Linked DNA regions of Homo sapiens: region 1 is linked to region 2. The links are contacts of gene promoters, found by promoter capture Hi-C in human tissues and cell types (Jung and others, 2019). All regions are on one chromosome and are shown on one strand. Each heading gives the region's core, a stretch centred on a gene start or on the middle of the fragment in contact. The rest is flanking DNA. Distances are from core to core; before and after follow the strand shown.

Region 1 (2,700 bases), core at 178-2,677, 77 kb before region 2:
AAAAGTTGTAGAGACAGGTAATTGATAGGTGATCAGTGCTTGAAGGAGAGAAAAATTTTAGAAAAGCAAAGCAGCTGAGCACTGCCTGTGCCCTCTCCGCATAGCCTGTAGTGTGTTCTCACTGTGCGTTTTCTGCTTAGAGTGAACATGAGGCGATTGTTGAAATCAGATCTACTGAAACTCATCTAGGCATTGTTATCGCAACATCATTGGCAACCACGGGTCCTTTGGACCTTGCCAATCTTAGAGGTCTTGTGTTCTATCAAGGGTTGGGAATAAATTGACCGGGAAGAGAACGTCCTGAGAAGTGGCCTGATTGGCATGTGAATACCGTGAAGGGTATTTGAGAGGATGGTGTTGCAGCATTTATCTTATTTCAAGCACTGCAAGGTCAGCCAGCTGCAAAGGATGGATCTCTGTGTTCTCAATGAGGACGCTGTTGGCATTTGGGGAGGGAGAGTTCTTCATTGTTTGGGACTGTCCCTGGAATTGCAGGATGATTAGCTTCCCTTTTCTCTCTTACTATGACAAGCAAACATGCACACAGTCATTTCCCATTGTCCTCCAAGGGATATGAGTGTACCAGTTGAGAACCAGCTGGGTTAACACTAAAATACTCCTTGACAGTTGAGAATGTGAATAAATTGCCAGAGGAGACCAAGGAAGTTTCCAAAATCTTTTTCCAGGTCTGTGGCTAAGGTTCCCACCTCTCTCTCTGATGAATCTGATTTGGTTGTGTTTAAAGCCAGAGGAAAACATAGAGGGTCCAGTTCTAGGTCAGCCTTTCTCTATTGTTGAACAGCCAATGAATGGAACCTCATTCTGGGCCTGTCTATGTGATCAAAACACCTGGAACAGTTAGACTCTGGGCAAATCATCTAAACTCTGTGGGTTTCTGTAGCCCCTAAAGGAGAAATATGCAGAGATTGCAGCAGGGAGATGCTAAAGCCCTGGTCAGCTCCCAGATCCTGCTACTGAGGTATTTTCTCCAGATTCCTTTTCCTGCAGCATGTCCTTCCGGGGGCTGCAGAGTCTGCTTGCTGACAGGCGTCTTTGAAGGAGAAAGGAAAGGCTGCTTGAATACAGAACAGGCAGGGAGGGCATCTCAGGTCCATGAAAATGGAACGAACAGAACTGCTGAGATTCTCTGTGCCAGAGAGCAGGCCACTGCTTACTAAGCAAAGTATCCTGAGAAGGAGGGGAAGAAATAATTAAAAGAGTAACAGTGGCAAGACTGTAGTGACTTAAATGTCAGGAGGGCCTAATTTGCCCCTTAGGAGATTGAGCCTTGAGAAGCCCCTGACTTCTGCTGATGTCTAGGACCACTGCCCTCTGCAGGCCAGAAGTGGAAAGGCAGGCTGCTACCTAGCCGGCTAGGGCTGCACCTCAGTCCGTTTGTGAGTACAGGGTCTGTGTTCTCTTCTTAAAATGGACAACTTCCTTCAAAATTAGCGGGGTGTGGTGGCACGTGCCTGTAATCCCAGCTACCCAGGAGACTGAGGCAGGAGAATCGCTTGAACCCAGGAGGTAGAGGTTGCCAAGATACTGCCATTGCACTCCAGCCTGGGTGACAGAGTGAGACTCTGTAAAAAAAAAAAAAAAAAAAAAAAAAAAAAAAAGACAACCTTCAACCTCCTTCCTTCTCTTCTTTCTCTTTCTTCCTTCCCTTCCCTTCTTTTTCTTTCTTCTCTCTTTCCCTACCTGCCTTCCTTCCCTCCCTCCCCTCATCCCTTCTTCTCAAACTCTCTCCCTCCCTCCTGTTTTATCAGGATGATAAGCGCTCTGGATGGTTTTGTTTGTTTTGGTATTTTGTTTTGGATTGCATTTTAGAAGATTATTTTTATTGCATAAACCAGAGAGAAAGAAAAAACCTTCACCCACGGCCCTGCTGCTTCACTTAGCATCCCTGTCCAGTCCTTGTCTGTGTGCAGATGTAACTGTTCCACATGGTCATTGTCATTTTCAGCAATGACAAAAATTGTTTCTGAAGAGAGAAGTTGCCTCCCACTCTCCCCATCTCTCTGACACCTTCCGCCTCTTCCCTTGGGAAGATGAATACAGCTTGTCTCTGGTACTCCGGACGACCCCCTTCAAGGCCGGTGTTGTCACCTTCTAAGGGCAGCTTCCCAGCCCCTTCACAGGGAGCCGCCTCTGGAGAGGGCAAGAACCGGCACTGGGTGCCAGCCCCCAGCCTTTGTCAGAGGGGGAAACGTGATCGTCCTGGGAAACATCCACCCCCTAGCCAGGGTCTATAGCCTTTCCATTCTTAGTCCCCCAGCCCCTCGGGTGGATGCCAGGAACAGACAAAGCGAATGAGGACCATTGAAATTAAAAGGTCATCAAATAATCAAGTTTGGTGTTTTATTTCTAGCCTCAATATCATCCTAATATCCATCCCAGCCAGCCCCGGTGGCATCCTCACTCTCCAAATGTCAGGTAAGTGCTGGTGCTTCCAGAGCTGCACCTTCGAAAGCTTTCCTTTCTCTAGAAAAGTTCAGATTCTGCTTAGTTAGGAGTAGAAAGTCTGCATCAGAAATAACCCTTAAGGGATGCATTGTCATGGCCGAGATGAATAAATTTTCAAAGCAAAGGTAGCCAGTGATGTGTGTGGATGTATCAAAGGTATGCTTTGTGAAATAAAAAATGAATTGATTTTTTAAAATCATTCTGATCTCATATATTCTTGGTTTTTAGTTTTGT
Region 2 (2,700 bases), core at 152-2,651:
CTGCTATGTTGGGGGACCTAGTGAAGCCCAAGGTTTTCATGAATTACACCTCAATTCAGCCATCAGGATTAATATGTTTAAATTCCAGTTGGACAGCCCACTGTTAGCTGATACCTAATAGAAAATACCTGACTTCTAAGTCCCCCATCATGTCTCCCCTGTTTCAACAGCACTACCCTTATCTCTCAGCCAATCAGGCCATAAAGGGTTAAGATCACTAGTTTCCTTTTGAATATTAACATTTCACAATATTGTGTACATGTGTGCATGCCACTTACAGCACTGAACCCTATTGATCCTTACCTCTATGATCTTCCCTAATCTTCATTGCATCATGTCAATGACTAATCATGAGAGATCAGGCAGTCTGACTTCTAGGTCTGCATTTGGGACCTCTATGCTTTTCTGCCTCCATAATTATTTTGTTTATGCAATAAAATAAAATAATAAAATAGGAAAAGCAGGTTAAAATGCTGGCTCTGCAACACCAGCCTGAAAGGAATTGCGTCCGCCTCTCTGATGGAAAACAGCTTAGCAATTCGAATATATCACCCCAACAACCATCATCAAAAGAGAACCCTGGGACCTGCCATAAAGCAAATGCTTGGTGTGAATCAATGGATGGCTGAGTAAATAGCCAAAAGTGAACTGCAAGCAGCAGGAATGGATTTGAGAAAAATCAACAATTCAGCATGGCCCTCAGATACGGTGTGGGCCTTCCAAGGCCTGCGCGTGCTTGCTGCAGGGAAAGAGAGTAAACCAGAAGCCTAGTTTTGAAGGGGAACAGGTTACCTACTGGCACCAGCCTCTGTTGATTACACACCGCAAGAGCCTGGAGAGGAAGCAGGTGAATCCAGTTTTCTCTGTCTCTAAACACCTCAGTTTACCTAGCTCTATTGTGGGGGTCTTGCAATTTCAAGTTCCTTCTGTGATGATCCAAGAAATAATAGGTCTAGCAAGTGCTTTATGTAAACCAAAAAGTGCCGGCACAAGGTTGAGGAGGCAGCACTGACCAGGTGTGTCCAGGGTAAACTCTCTAGAGGAGCGTTTCATAAATTGAACGTGCATTGGGATCTCCTGGGAATTTTGATGAAATGAACATCCCGCTTCATGGGTCTGGAGTGGGGCCTCAGCGATGCTAACAAGCTTCCAGGTGATGCTGATGCTGCCGGTCCGCGGACCACACTCCGGAGTAGCAAGGGGCCAGAAGGGCCAAATCTGCCTGCGTGGAGGGAAGTCGGGGAGATGGGGAGAATGGAAAGAAGGACGGTAGAAGGGAAGCTGCTAGGAAGGAGAGATCGGTGCGGGGAGGAGGGGGGTTCCAAGAAGAAGGGGGAGGCTGCGGTGCTGGAGCGAGGATGCGCAGACCGAGGCAGGGAGGCGGGGGTGCGGGAGGCTCCGCGGCTGCGCGGGCGCGTGCTGGTGGCCTCGGCGGAGGCTCAGTCCCGGCCCGCGCCCGCGGCGCCCCCGCTGCGGCCCGAGCGGCCTGGCTGCGGGATCTGTGCGCACGGATGGCGCGGCCGCCCCGGCAGCACCCGGGGGTCTGGGCGTCGCTGCTCCTGCTGCTACTGACGGGGCCCGCCGCCTGCGCAGCCAGCCCCGCGGACGACGGTGCGGGCCCGGGGGGCCGGGGACCCCGGGGACGCGCGCGGGGGGACACGGGCGCCGACGAGGCGGTGCCGCGCCACGACTCCTCCTACGGCACCTTCGCGGGGGAGTTCTACGACCTGCGCTACCTGTCGGAGGAGGGTGAGGCTGCGGGAGGGCGAGGGGTTGCGGGAGGGGAGACCGGGGGTGGGGGACCGAGGATCGGGGGAACGAGGAGAGGGGGCGAGGGAGGGGGAGGGGGTCGGAAAAGATGTCCGTGGAGGCAGCTCTTGCAGAGGCGAGGCCAGGATGGGGAGCGCAGTGCCCAGGCCTCCGCCGGCCTGGAGGAAAGGCCCAAAGAGCTGTCAATGCCTGCCGCCCGCTTTACAGATGGGGAGAGTGAGGCTGGGAGAGGGAGGGGTCATCCAAGTTCTGCAAGGCTGTGGATAGGGGTGGGTGCTGAGTCTAAGCTCCCCCAGTTCTTAGATCTGGCTTCCACCTTTGCCGCCTGGGGTTGGGTTATAGGGGAGGAGGCCGCCATCTGGCCAGGGCAGCTAGGGGGAAGCAGAAAAACCCCAACCTAAAGAGAGAGGTTGCCTTATTTCCTCCCTGTCTGTATTGACTTAAATTTGCAGTGACCAGCGCCCACCTCGTAGCATTCTGTTCCTGCTCACTGACCCGTCAGAGCTGGGTCACATCAGCCTCCCCACTCCCATCCCTCCTCTTTTATGACGCCACATATGTTATGGTCCCCTAGTGCGAGCCACCATTGTTGTGGCCTGCTGGGCCCGCAGACTGGGAGTTTGTCAGCCAAGGGCCTCCCTGTAGAGCTGCTTCAACGAGCACAAAAGCCAAGCGGATGGTGGTCAGAAGGAATGGAAACTGGCCTCTTTAAGCAACTTTGGGAAGTAGTGACTTTCCTTTTCTTCTGCTAAGAGGGATATCCAACCATCAAGCTGGGGTTTGAAGTGTTGAGTCCCAGGAGCTCATATCTGTTAGTGGATGTGTCTGTTGTTAGGATTAAGTTCAGCTGTATACAACAAGCAAACATTAATAGCTTCAACAAGATAGAAGTTTCTCTCTTACAGAAAGAAAACTAGAAATAGGTAATCC

What was found. The method cuts DNA at HindIII sites, captures the fragments that hold promoters and counts their contacts. A contact is called where the count stands out against the background at its distance.
Region 1: a fragment that was not itself captured here is called in contact with the fragment with the promoter of FRRS1L in region 2 in 2 of the 25 tissues and cell types used here (adrenal gland and dorsolateral prefrontal cortex).

What each region holds. Positions count from the first base shown.
Region 1 is chr9:109,243,354-109,246,053 of GRCh38, reverse strand. EPB41L4B (erythrocyte membrane protein band 4.1 like 4B) reads left to right here. Exons shown (of 26, transcript NM_019114.5): 15 at 2,372-2,436. Among named protein-coding and RNA genes, the nearest start is that of EPB41L4B, 76 kb to the left of the region's middle. The HindIII fragment of the contact is 6,336 bases long and covers 1-2,700 here.
Region 2 is chr9:109,165,950-109,168,649 of GRCh38, reverse strand. It overlaps FRRS1L (ferric chelate reductase 1 like), which reads left to right and starts at 1,401. Exons shown (of 5, transcript NM_014334.4): 1 at 1,401-1,749. The coding sequence starts at 1,512. The HindIII fragment of the contact is 7,141 bases long and covers 395-2,700 here.